Regions from separate parts of the Homo sapiens genome. Here all the other regions are linked to region 1. Evidence: promoter capture Hi-C in 16 types of primary human blood cells and fetal thymus (Javierre and others, 2016). All regions are on one chromosome and are shown on one strand. Each heading gives the region's core, a stretch centred on a gene start or on the middle of the fragment in contact. The rest is flanking DNA. Distances are from core to core; before and after follow the strand shown.

Region 1 (4,811 bases), core at 134-2,633:
GTCCCAGCTACTCCGGAAACAGGTGGGAGGATCGCATGAGCCCCGGGGGATGGAAGTTGCAGTGAGCTGAGTTAGAGATCGCGCCACTGCACTCCAGCCTGGGTGACAGAGCCAGACCCTGTCTCTAAAAATATATATAAAACAACAATAGTAAAATAATAAATTGGCTGGACATGGTGGCACCCACCTTAAGTCCCAGCTACTAGGGAGGCTGGGGCAGGAGGACTGCTTGAGCCCAGGAGTTCGAGGCTGCAGTGAACTATGATCAGGCCACTGAATTCCAGTCTGGGCGACACAGCAAGACCCTGTCTCAAAAAAAATTAAAGCAGTAAAATTCACAGAGACAGAATAATGGTTGCTAGGGGCTGAAGGGAGGGGGAAATGGGGAGTTTGTTTAATGGGAGTAGTTTCAGTTTTGCCACATGAGAAAAGTTCTGGAGATGACGGACGGCTGCACAACAATATGAATGTAGTCAACACTACTGAACTGTACATTTAAAAATGGTTAGGATGATAAACTTTATTTTTCATAAAACCCAGTTTCTGCACAAAAAGATAAAATTTATGTTATGTGTACTTTACCACAATTTAAGAAAAAATTTAAATTCTCATCCCAACATTACCACGCCCCCCACCCTTAGCCAACTGGTGAATGTTTACTCATTTTTCAACGCCTAGCTCAAATGTCTCCTCTTGCCACGCCATCCCTTAGCTGACCACCCTTGTAGTTGGCCATTCCCTCTTTTATGCCAACACTGTGCCCTGCACGTACATTATACCTCTTACAGCACTTATCAAACCTAGTAATTATTGCTTTACAGATCCGTTTCCACTACTAGATTACAAACAATTTGGGGGCGGGGACCTTGTTTTACTCATCTCTGTATCCCCTAGACTTAGGGCTTGATAAGCTGAAAAGAATCAAGAAGGGCTTGATTAATTAAGGCTCCTCTGGCTTTTAAGGAGACCATACTGGAGGGTCATTTGCCCAAAAGAAGAGGCATCGGGGTCTCCTCAGGTTTTAGAAATCTGGTCAAACATCCAGAGCTGACTCCCACACCCTACTGCGAGAAGAGCGCGAGCGCGCGTCTCAAAAGGCTCCGCCTCAACAGTTCGGGTCCCCAGGAGGATCCGGGGGCCACCCCACCTCCACCCTGGGCCAGGTCGGTTAGCTAGACCCGCCCAGCGGTCCAGACATACCTTAGGTAATGAGCAGCCTGCTCTGGGCTCAAGGCCTCGGCTTCCGGAAACCTTCGGGATGCCTCCATGACCCTCGGATTGGGTTCCAGTTACCCCGGCGGGAGTTTGGAGCTTGGAGCTTGGAGCTTGGAGCTTGGAGCTTAGAGTTTGGAGCTTGAATTTCGCTCACTCCCGCCCCGCGCATGCTCTGTGCGCCGTGGAGAGGGACACAGCCAACCGACGGCCTCGCGGCCGGCCAATCCGCGACCACGCGCTGCGACGCCTCCGCCTGAGCCCCGCCCATGACGGTGGGCGCCTGCGCCTACGCGCGCCGGGAAGCAGAAGGTGATCTCTGCCTTCGAGACACGGAGTGTGCTGCCTCAGTCTGTGATCCCTCGCGTTTCAATCCAATTCAAACCATGCTGCAGCCAATTCGTTCGCGCGTGCGTGTGCCATCATTGTGAGTGGAGGAGACTGCCCGATATGATCCCAGTCATTGCGGCGACCCCTGGAGATCTCCAACGCCTGCGTCCCCCAACCATACCCTGCCCCGCATCCACAGATATCTTCCCTTCCTTGATCGCCAGTACCTGGCACTGACCGTGCTTTGAATTCAAACACCCTGGGAGGCATAGTCCCTGTGATTTAAACTAACATTGAAGAAGCGACCAGACGCGGTGGTTCACGCCTGTAATCCCAGCACTTTGGGAGACCGGGGCGGGCGGATCACGTGAGGTCAGGAGTTCGAGACCAACCTGGCTAAAATGGTGACACCCCGTCTCTACTAAAAATACAAAAAATTAGCCGGGCGTGGTGGCGGGCGCCCGCAGTCCCAGCTACTCGGGTGGCTGAGGCACGAGAATCGCTTGGACCCAGGAGGTGGAGGTTGCAGTGAGCCGGGATTGCACCACTGCACTCCAGCCTGGGTGGCAAAGCGAGACTCCATCTCAAAAAAAAAAAAAAAAAAAAAAAAGGCTGGGTGCAGTGCCTCACGCCTGTTATCCTAGCCTTTTGGGAGGCTAAGGTGGGAGGATCACTTGCACTTAGGAGTTCGAGACCAGCCTGGGCAACATGGTGAGACTCCCGTCTCTTTAAAAAAAATTTTTTTCTTCTCCACAGGGCGTTATGCTGTATTTATTTTCTTAAAAAGAGAGAGAGAAAGAGAGAAGGGTCTTCAAGAATCTCAAACCCTGGAGGTGGAGGCTGCAGTGAGCCAAGATCATGCCACTGCACTCCAGCCTGGGTGACAGAGAAAGACTCCATCTCAAAAAAAAAAAAAAAATTAAAGTTCTTATTTAAGAAATAAGTAACTAGGTTCACATACTTGGTATAATAAAAGGAAGACAAAAATAATTTAAAAAAAAAGAAGTAGTGCTGTGGTCATCATTTCTTCAGAAGCACCAACTAAGATACAGTCATTTTCAAATGCAGAGCCTAAAAAGAAGGCAGAGCCTAGAGCTTAAGGAAATGTGATTGAGTTTAAGTGGCTTGCTTGGGTGACACTAAATAGGAGGTTGTGGGCCAACAAAAATTGTCCTTGTTCATATACTGTTAAGAACACAGACATGACTCCTCAAGACACTAATTTAGCATTCAGTATTGGAAAACTCACCTATTGGCCCAGTCATACATCATATGTCCAGAGAATTTTAAGCTTTTCATAAAATTTATAGACCGTTATGAGTTAAAAGGAATGTTGGAGGCCGGGTTCAGTGGCTCACTGAACCTGTAATCCCAGCACTTTGGGAGGCCGAGGCGGGCGGATCACCTGAGGTCAGGAGTTCAAGACCAGCCTGGCCAAATGGTGAAACCCCCGTCTCTACAAAAATTAGCTGGGCATGGTGGCGGGTGCCTGTAATCCCAGCTTCTCGGGAGGCTGGGGTGGAAGAATCGCTTGAACCCAGGAGGCAGACGTTGCAGTGAGCTGAGATCGTGCCATTGCACTCCAGCCTGGGCGACAGAGCAAGACTCCATCTCAAAAAAAAGAAAAGGGTTGGGGGGAGGTGGGGGATCTTGGAGAACATGGGCTATTTTCCTGGTTTGTATGACTTTAAGGCCTTTATTAAGAGGCCTTTTAGTATACTATTATCCACATTTTTCAGATGTGGAAACAGGCTCAGAGAGATAAATTGACTTCATCTAAGCTTCCTGAGCTAGGAAGCAGCAGAGCCAGAATTCAATACTAGGTCCATATGGACACAAATCTGTGCCGTTTCGCTGTGTCACACTGGAAAGAAGAGGGCAGTGGCGGGAAATGAGGTTGATGAGGCAGTTGAAGGCCAGGTTATGAAGGAACTTGTTTACTCTGCTAAAGTGTTTGAATCACATCTTTTCCTGGAGGCAAGCTTGGATTGGGCTGTGCTATGGTCTGAATGTCCTTCAAAATTCTTGTGTTGAAACTTAATCCCCACCATGGTGGCATTGAGAGGCGGGGCCTTTTAGCAAGTAATGTCATGAGGGATCCTACTTCATGAATAAATTAGTGCCTTATGAAAGGGCTGGAGGGAGCTAGTTTAGGCCCTTTTTGCTCTTCTGCTTTCCTACCATGTAAGGACACACTATTCCTTCCCCTCCAGAGGATGCAGCAACAAGGCACCATCTTGGAAGCAGAGAGCAGCCCTCACCAGATACCAATCCTGCTGGCACCTTCATCTTGGACTCTTCAGCCTCCAGAACCATAATAAATACATTTCTATTGTTTATAAATTATGAGTTTGATGGCCAGGTGAGGAGGCTCACGCCTGTAATCCCGCCCTTTGGGAGGCTGAGGCGGGCAGATCATCTGAGGTCGGGAGTTCGAGACCAGCCTGACGGAGAAACCCTGTCTCTACTAAAAATGCAAAATTAGCCGGGCATGGTGGCACATGCCTGTAATCCCAGCTACTTGGGAGGCTGAGGCAGGAGAATCACTTGAACCTGGGAGGCGGAGGTTGTGGTGAGCCAAGATCACGCCATTGGCACTCCAGCCTGGGCAACAAGAGCGAAACTCCGTCTCAAAAAAAAAAAATATGAGTTTGAGTCTATGGCATTTTATTATAGCAGCACAAAGGAGCTAAGGATGAGTTGAGAGTCCAGGCGCCCTGGATACCCAAAGGATGAGTAGGATGAGAAGAGCAGAATAGGGGAGAAGATGTAGGAGAGAATTCTGCAGAAAGGAAAAGAGAGATGAGAGCACAAAAATCTTCATCTTGAGTCTGGGGAAGGCCATGTCTGGTTGTGCTTTGGCTCAGGGTCCACCATCATCGCTCATATCCGGGGAATTGTTGAGAACTGAAGATGAAGCAAAGCAGGCCCCTGGTGGTTGTTGTAGGCATGCCCCATTGTGGGCTGTGAAGAAAAGCTAAAGAGAACTCCCTCAGGAACCCCGGCTACCTCCTCTCTGCTTCCCAGCTGGCAGTGATGCCTAAAGGCCCTGATCACCGGGAAGGAAGGACCAACACTCGGCTTGCCTGCCCTTTGGCTATTGGATTTTCTAAGCCCCATTTTCACACAGCTGTAGGGCTCCTCCTTTAAACTCCCCAGCTCTGGCTGCTCCTCCCCTCCCCTTCGGTCCTGTAGTCTGCTTCCCTTGGGCCCTTCTTGGTGCCTTCTGGAGTCCCAGGTCTCAACCCAGGGCTCTGATGACCCAGGAA
Region 2 (4,704 bases), core at 1,772-4,271, 210 kb before region 1:
ATCAGGAGTTGGGGCATGGGGCATTTTGAGTTTCGTGCTTATGTTGCCTTCCCCCCATCTTTTGCTCCTGGACATCTTTTGGCTAGGTGGGGTTTTCCTCACTCCCCACCTCCAAAGCGGAGACTATGTCTTTAAGAAAGGACGAGTCAGAGCCGCGGGGATCAGTTTCAAGCAGCCCTCAGAAGGCGAATCTGGATTGAGTTTAGGAAGAAAAAAGAAGGGGTTAGCTTTGGTCCTGCCTCCTTTCCTTTCTCTCATTTGCTCGTCTCTCCTCCGTCCTTCGTCTGGAAATTTGGTGAACTTGGCCAGGAGGTTCCAGAGCCCAGGGCTTTCCCCAGCAGCCTCGTCCTCTCACCTGGTCCCTCCTTCAGCTCCTGAGCACACAGTTTGGAGGACAGCTGGACAAGTGGCTGGAATGAGTAGGTACGTGGTCTGGACATTTTAACCTTCACCCTGTCAGGGAAGTCTGGGGAGTGTCCAACACAGACCCTGTGGGAGGCGGAAGGGAACTCTCAAGACCTCCGAGAACCTTGGTAACCGAGGCAGGAAGGAGATGGGTGGGCTTTGGTGACTCCACTAGGGGTTTTGTATTAAGGGTCAGAAGGAGGCTTGGTCCATGCAGCCTGGCCTACCTCCACCCTCGTGAGTTGCCTACCAAACCCATGATGGGTGGGAGTTTAGGAGTGTGAGGTGTTGAGTTTGCTGCTGCTGCTGCTGCCGCTGCTGCTGCTGCTGCCACTGCTGCTGCTAGAGGAATGGAGGCCAGAGGGTGCTAGGAACCCTATGAGAAAAGCAGATGGCAACATGTCCAGCCCCAGCCATCTGTGACTCTGGTGGCATGGAACCACTCAGCTAAGGTGAATGGGATTCAGTCTGCTCCAGCTGCATGTGCAGTGGGCCAGGAGCCACTCAAGGTCTTCTTGGGCTTACTTTTTTCAACTTTGTTGGATGACTACAAGCAAGGCTTTTAGCTTTTAAGGACTTCAGTTTACACTTCAGGGAAAATGACTTAATGCTACTCAGCTGAAAGGGGGAAGCACAAAGGAAGAGGTAGAGAAGGCAAACTGGGTTTGTGATAGAGATTCAAGGAGAGCTCGAGATTTCTGTGAGCTCAAGGATGTTTTCCCCTATTATTTTAGGAATAATTCATTCATTTATTTGTGTATTTAATCAGCAAGCATCAGTTAAATGCCTATTGGTGCCCGTCACTGGTGTCAGGGAACCAGCAATCCAATATGGCAGCAGGTCCTTCCGCCTGGCCTCCTTCCCCAGATCTCTACTCCTCCCTTTCCCTCACCCCTCAGCTGATTTGAGAGAGGAAGGGGCACTAGCTTCTAGTGTACTGAGGTGACATGATAAGGTCATGATAGGTGCTGACATTGTTGGCACTAGAGTGGGTACATCTCATTTGACAACACTCTCTCTTGAAAGAGATTTGGGCCTGGGTCCCAAACATTACCTCAGCCACTGGGAAGGATTTTGAAGGTCAGGAAACAACAGGGATCCACAAGTTCAGCCTAACCCCTCCCTGACAGAAGGGGTGGCCCAGGCCTTCTTTGGACATTGTCGGTAGAGCTGGGCCCCTGGTTGGGTCCTCAGCATCATATGTGGACCAAGCGTTGTTTGGATTTGCCAAGAACATCTAAGGACTTTGGTCTTTGTGATTTAAGTAAGTTGTCATAACTTGGGCAGGAGGCATGCTGGGATCTCAGCCACCTGGCTGTTGGGGAAGGGATAGGGTTGGGAATACTGGCTCTTGGGTGGTCCTTTGGGTGTGGAAAGCTTAGGCATGGCATAGACAAGCATGTATGTGTGTATGATATAGGAAGTATCCCCCAGGAGAAAAGGCCCGGCAAAAGCAAGGCAGAGTCTAACCCTGTCCAAGTAGGGTTGGGGTTCAGGACTGGAGTCATAACTGGCAGCTCACACAAGGACCTAATGCATACAGAGGAAGGGCAGTGAGACCAATGCCAGCGCCTGTGTACTCTGCTCTCACCCTGCTCAAGCAGAAATGGGAGTGGTGGAGCCAATGGGTGAGCTTCATGACTTCAGCTGAGAGGGCTGAATTGGCCTGCTCGGGGCTGCCACCACCCTACTTAAAAACAAATCCTCATAGCCCAGCTACCACTGCACTGGGTGTTTGCGACTGAACTGGGCTTATCTAAAGGGTTATTTGTGAGCCTGGAAAAGGGATAGGGAATAGGCCATGATGTCCTGAGGCTATGACAGTAGCACTTTGCTAACTTATCCTTGTCCACCCTTCCAATCCCACTGTGGCTGCTCCTGCCTCCTCAGGAAGGGATACCTCCAAGCTCAACTGCCCACTCCTGCAGGTAGGCCTACTGCCCTCGCACATGCTCTGCCCACTTCTTGGATTGCTGGGCTCTGGCTGCAAGCCCTCAGAGCTCCTGTCATTCCTTTGCAGAACAAAGCAGCTACTCCAAGCAAGTGGTGCAGAAGGGTGGCTGGTGGAGGGGAGGCGGAGAAAATGTCAGGGGCTTATGTCAGGAAAGTTGAATGCTTGCCAGCAGCTGGGCCTTCCCATCTAGGGTGACTTCATGAAAGAAGCCCTTGAAAGATTGTTCCCTCTCCCTTGTAAGGGTGCATTTTTGGGAATCACTTTGTTTTCCTCTCCATTTTCTCTGCAAGTCTGATTGTTTGAGGAGAGCTAAACGTTATGTGTACTATTAAAGAAAAAAAAAGTGGAGAAAACCACCCCTTAAATGTAAAGCTGAGTAATTTCAGGAAAGGAATCCAAGGGAATGAGGTTTCTGCCCAAGTATGGGAAAATATCCATCCATCTCCCCACTTAATCAGAAAAATGATCTGCCGAATAATGAGTCATGCTGCCTGTCAGCAAACAGCACTGACCCTAGCCACAGAGCCAGGAATAACAGAGGTGAGAGATGACAGTAGCTATGACGAAGAAAAGACATGAAGGGAACTGGATTCCTGCTGCCAGCAGCTGTTTGGCTCACCTTTGCCCCGTCCTGTGCAATAAAAAATGCACTGGACTGGGCTGTGTTATTGGTGACACTGATCAATACCACTGGGGTTCATCTGTGCATTCTGATAAGTGGGGTCTCCGCAGGGGGCACTCAGAATCAATCACAGCTTTGTGCACAGTCTGGGAGTTCTTTTTTACTGAGGAAAGCATATATACAGTAAATTGCATAAAGCACACTGTAAATGTACATTTCAATGAAGTTGTATATGTATATGTGTGTGTGTGTGTGTGTATACATCTGTGTGTAACCACCACCCAGATCAAAATATAGAACATTCGCAGCACCCCAGAAGGCTTACTTTTGCCCCTTCCATTTGGTATTTACACGCACCAAGTGCTGCAATCAAATGTTTGTGATCAGTGGCATGCTGGTAAATGTTTAACAACCAGTTCTGGTGTGTGTAATGGGGTGCCCTGCTTTGTAGCTTTTGCCAATTTTGTGGTATAAATATTCCTGCTATGGCTAATTTCGAGCTACCAACAGTTTAACAACTGGCTCACAAAATTATGAAAATTTAACAATTGGCTCTGGTGAGCCAAGCAGACTGGCTCCAGCACATCACCAGTTGTAACAAAGGATTAAAGAGAGCCAAGTCCACCCAACTACCCAATGCAGGTAGGAGTGGGCTCCCAAATACTCCCAGTTCCAGCCCCCTTAGTGAGGAGAGAATCGTTCATAGGATTTAAAGTGATCTCCAGCTTCTTTTATGCAGCAGACATCGGTTGTGTCCCTACCTTGTGGCAAGCTCTAAGGTCACGAACATGAGTAAACCATGGTTCTATCCCTCAAGGAGCTTACATAATTTAACACTCGGAAGGAGAGGCGGACGTGTGAAGGTATATGTGCAATAAAGAGTTCTAGGGTCTGTGTAGGAGACTGCATGGGGCTTAATTGAGGGCACCAAGGAGGGCTCATTTCTGCCTTTGAATCAGAAATACATCTCTTATTCCACTTTGCTTTGGGAGGTGTCTTGGGGCCGAGGAAAAGAGCATCAGACTCCTACACACCTGTTTTGGATCCTGGTTCCACCTCTTCCATGCTGTGTGATCTTGGGCAGGTCACTTAACCTCTCTGAGCCTCAGGTCCCATATCTATAGAATGAGAGTAATTGTAGTACCTACCTTACACAGCTATTGTGAGTATTAAATGAGCTATTTCATGTGTAGCACTTAGCACACATAAGCACTTACTAATTATTAGCTTTAATTAGGAATTATTAGCTTCAATTAAGAATTATTAACAACTAGCTTGGACAAGCTTTGAACCTCTCTAGGACTCATTTTCATCTGTGAGATGGGATTAAAGTGCCAACCTTGTCAGTGTTGTCATGAGAATTAAATTAGATCATGTATGTGAATTGTCTGGCCCAGAGCTGGTTCTCAGCAAATGCTGGTTTGCCCCTTTCCTGCTTTCTCGCTCCTTTCCAACACACTGGCTTAAGACCTCGCTTGGAAAAAAAAAAAAAAAAAACCAGTTCTGACATGTTAGGAAATAAATATATCAAGTGAACACATTAACCCTTTTTAAAAGCTTTTTATTTTGCAATTTTAGACTCAAGGGAAGTTGCAAAAAAATTTACAAGGTGGATCTGGTGACCCTTTACTCAGTTTTACAATGTTGACATCTTACACAACTGGGAAAGTGATGTTGGTACAATCCGCAGAGCGTATTCAGGTTTCACGTTTTACATGTCATG
Region 3 (4,303 bases), core at 353-2,852, 230 kb before region 1:
TACCCCTTTTCCAATAATCTGCTCCTTTTTATTGCCGAGTAGTCTTCCATGGCATGGATGTATCAAAGACCGTTTATCCATTCACCCACTGAAGGGCATGTGGGTTATTCCCAGTTTTGGGCTCTTATAAATAATGCTGCTATAAACCTTCACGTAACAGGTTTTTATGTGGAAATAAGTTTTCATTTCTCTGGGATAAATGCCCAAGAGTACAATTGCTGAGTCATATGGTAATTGCATGTTTAGTTTAAAAAACAAAAAACAAAAAACTGACGGCCAGGTGCGGTGGCTCACACCTGTAATCCCAGCACTTTGGGAGGCCAAGGTGGGCGGATCACGAGGTCAGGAGATCAAGACCATCGTGGCCAACACGGTGAAACCCCATCTCTACTAAAAATACAAAGATTAGCCAGGCGTGGTGGTGCGCACCTGTAGTCCCAGCTACTTGGGAGGCTGAGGCAGGAGAATTGCTTCAACCTGGGAGGTGGAGGTTGCAGTGAGCTGAGATCTTGCCACTGCACTCCAGCCTGGATGACAGAGCGAGACTCCATCTCAAAAAAAAAACAAAACTGGCAAACTGTTTTCCAGAGCGGCTGTACCATTTTACATTCCCACCAGCAATGTATGAGGATTCCAGTTTCTTGGCATCCTCATCATCATTTGGTGTTCTCACTGTTTTCCCTTTTAGCCGTTCTTCTCTAGGTGTGAAGTAATATCTCATTCTGGTTTCAATTCTCATTCCCCTAAGATTAGTGATGTTGAACATTGTTTCATGAGCTTCTTTGCCATCTGTATATCTTCTTCAGTGACTTGTCTATTTATGTCTTTAGCCCATTTTCTGGTTGAGTTGTTTGAATTTTTAACTGTCGAGTTTTGACAGTTCTTTATACATTTTAGATACCAGTCCTTTGTCAGACATATGGTTTGCAAACATTTTCTCTTGGTCTGAAGCTTTTTCTCATCCTCTTAACAAGGACTCCATAGAACAAAACTTGCTAATTTTGATGAAGTCCAATTTATCAATTTTGTTTTTTTGGATGTGTTTTGGTTTTCAAGTATAAGGTCTGGCTTATATGGCTAGCTTTAGATTCCAAACACTTTCCTGTTTCTTCCTAAAAATTTTATAATTTTACATTTAAGTTTCTGATCCATTTTGTTGATTTTTTTTTTGTATAAGGTGTGAGATAGATTATATCATTTCCTGAGGCTGCCGTAACAAGTAACTGTAAACTTGGTAGCTTTAAACAACAGAATGTATTCTCTCATGATTGTGGAGGCCAGAAGTCTGAGCTTAAGGTGTGGGCAGGGTTGCACTCCCTCTGGAGGCTCTAGGAGAGGATCCTTCCTTGTCTAGTCCCGCTTCTGCGGGCTGCCAATACTCCTTGGCTTATGGCCATGTCACTGCAATCTCTACCTCCATCTTCACATCATCATCTCCTCTGTGTGTCCGTCTTATAAGGATACGTGTCATTAGATTTAGGACTCACTTGAATCCAGAATGATCTCCTCATCTTAATTATACTTGCAAAAGCTCATCTTCCAAATAAGGTAACATCCCTAGGCTCCGGGAATCAGGACGTAGACGTATCTTTTGGGAGGGCACCATTCAGCCCACTACACAGGTCAAAGTTCATTTTTTGGTCTATGTCCAGTTGCTCCAGCACCATTCAAAAAGGCTATCTTTCTTCCATTGAATTGCTTTTGTACCTTTGTTGAAAATCAGTGGGGCATATTTGTGTGGGTCTATTTCTAGGTTCTCTACTCTGTTTCATTGATCTGTGTGTCTGTCCCTCCACCAATACTACATAGTCTTGATTATTGTAGCTACATAATAAGTCCTGAAATTGGATAGAGTGATTCCTCCCACTTTATTCTCCCTTTTCAAAATTGTTTTGGCTATTCTAGTTTCTTTGCCTTTCCATATAAATTTTGGAATAAACTTGTCTATGTTTAAAATATCCTCCTGGAATTTTGATAGAGATTGAGCTAAAACTATACATAAATTTGGGGAGAACTAACATCTTTACTATGTTAAGTCTTCTGATCCATGAATGTGGCATATTTCTTTCTCTATTTAGGTCTTCTTTGATTTCTGTCATCAGCATTTTGTAGTTTTCAGCATATAAGCGCTATACATATCTTGTTACATTTACACTTAAGTATTTTGTTCTTGAGCAAGTGTAAATGGCACTGTATTTTTAATTTCAGCATCCATGTGTTCATTGCTAGTATATAGAAATACAATTTATTTTTGCAAGCTTATCTTGTATCCTGCAACCTTGCTAAGCTCACTTATTAGTTCTAGGAATTGTCTTGTAGATTCCTTGGGATTTTCTATGTAGACTATAATGCCGTCTCCAAATAGGAGCAGTTTTATTTATTCTTTTATAATCTACATGTTTTATCTTTTCTTTTTTCTTCTTTTTTTTTTTTTGCCTTATTACACTGGTTAGAACTTCCAACACTATGTTGAATTAAGGTGGTGAGAGCAGAGATCCTTGCCTTGTTTCCAATCTGAGGGGGAAAGCATTTAGTCTTTCAAGCATTGTGTTTAATGTTAGGTATAAGTCTAATATTGCTTGATCCAGAAAAAAATATATATATATTTGGTGTAAGTTGTATGTAGATGCTCAAGTTAAGGAAGTTCCCTTTTTGCCCTATTTCTCAGAGTTTTTTTTAACTTATAATAAGTGTTAGATTTTATCAAATGCTTTTTCTGCATTGATTAATATGATCATGTGATTTCTATTAGTTTGTTACACTGATTGTGTAGAATTAGCATACAATTCTTTAAACATTTGGTAGAATTCTCCAGTGAAACCATCTGGACCTGGAGATTTTAAAGGGAGTAGTTTTAAAATTATGAATTTCATGTTTTTAATAGTTATAGGGCTATTCAAATCATCTATTTCATATTTGGTAGATTTGGGAAGTTTATATTTTTCAAGAAATTGGTCTGTTTCATCAAAGTTGTCAAAGCATGTAGCATTGTTCATAGTATTCCCTTATTACCCATTTGATGTCTGAAGGCTCTGTAGTGATATTCATTTCCTTCCTGATATGAGCAATTTGTATGTCTTGCTAGAGGTTTGTCAATCTTACTGATCTTTTCAAAGAAGCAGCTCTTTATTTCATTGATTTTCTCTATTTTTCTATTTTCAATTCTGCTTATTTATGCTGTTATTTTTATTATTTTCTTCCTTCTGTTTGCTTTGGCTTTATTTTGCTCTCCTTGTTCTAGTTACTTGAGGTAGGAACTTAGATGATTGATTTGAGACCTTTTTTCTTTTATAGTATAAGCATTTGGAGCTATAAACTTCTTTTTAAGCATTGCTTTAGTTGCATCTCATAAATTTTTCTATGTTGTATTTTCATTTTGATTCAGTTCAATGTATTTTTAAAATTTATCTTGAAATTTAAATTTTCATATTTGACCCATGGGTTATTTTAAAGTGTGTTGTTTATTTTTCAAGTTTTAGATATTTTCTTATCTTTCTGTTATTGATTTCCAATTTGGTCACAGAATACATTTCATTTGATTTCAATTATTTTAAATTTGTTGACATTTGTTTTATGACACAGGATATGTCTAACATGTTTTGTATTCCATGGGCACTTGAAAAGGATGTGTACTCTTCTGCTGTTGGATGAGATGTTCTATAAATGTCAAATCAAATCCTGTTGTTTGAGGGTGTTGTTGAGTTCCTATATACCCTTGCTGATTTTCTATCTAGTAGGTCTATCCCAGATGCCTGCTCAGCCTTCTCTGACTTCACCCCAGTGGGGAAATTTGGGGCACCTGGTTATAGCTTAGCAAGGGTGAAAAGCTATGTTTTCAACCCCTCCTTTGCTGGTGGGGTTGGGAACGGGACCACATATTTTTTTCTGTGGTATTTGGCTAAAGAATTAGTGTATAAAAATTTCTGTCTTGGTAAGAGAGCATGATTTTTAAAAAATCTGCCCCTGTTGGTATTTTCAGTTTGCAGACTTTTTCAGCTTCAACTCTGGGATATATGAGGCAAAACAAAAATCCAGGGAACTCACCACATGCCGTTCCTTGAGTCCTGAGGTCTCTTGCAGGTGTACATTCTTCTCTCCACCTCCTCTCCAGTCTTTTTGTGTTCATTTTATATATAATGCTCACGGTTTTTTGTTGTGCTTTAGAGGGAGGACCAGGGAAAAGTATGTCATTCCATCTTCCCAGAAGCAGAAGTCCTAACTTATTCTTTTAAAATGTTATGTAACTTTGCAGAGTATGACTTTTATCAGGATTTATTTAACTATTCACCCATTGATGAACTTT

The links. The method cuts DNA at HindIII sites, captures the fragments that hold promoters and counts their contacts. A CHiCAGO score of 5 or more calls a contact.
Region 2: a contact is called between a fragment that was not itself captured here and the fragment with the promoter of ERCC6L in region 1, in 1 of 17 cell types (neutrophils). The highest score is 6.0, in neutrophils.
Region 3: a fragment that was not itself captured here is called in contact with the fragment with the promoter of ERCC6L in region 1 in 1 of 17 cell types (neutrophils); the score reaches 5.7 in neutrophils.

The regions. Positions count from the first base shown.
Region 1 is chrX:72,237,644-72,242,454 of GRCh38, forward strand. It overlaps ERCC6L (ERCC excision repair 6 like, spindle assembly checkpoint helicase), which reads right to left and starts at 1,384. Exons shown (of 2, transcript NM_017669.4): 1 at 1,201-1,384. The coding sequence starts at 1,268. It also overlaps a transcript of PIN4 not described here. RefSeq lists an enhancer at 1,166-1,315. The HindIII fragment of the contact is 5,695 bases long and covers 1-2,831 here.
Region 2 is chrX:72,027,277-72,031,980 of GRCh38, forward strand. All of the region lies in intron 1 of NHSL2 (NHS like 2), which reads left to right. Among named protein-coding and RNA genes, the nearest start is that of RTL5, 100 kb to the right of the region's middle. The HindIII fragment of the contact is 2,483 bases long and covers 1,781-4,263 here.
Region 3 is chrX:72,011,116-72,015,418 of GRCh38, forward strand. The region is part of intron 1 of NHSL2 (NHS like 2); the gene reads left to right. Among named protein-coding and RNA genes, the nearest start is that of NHSL2, 100 kb to the left of the region's middle. The HindIII fragment of the contact is 1,307 bases long and covers 950-2,256 here.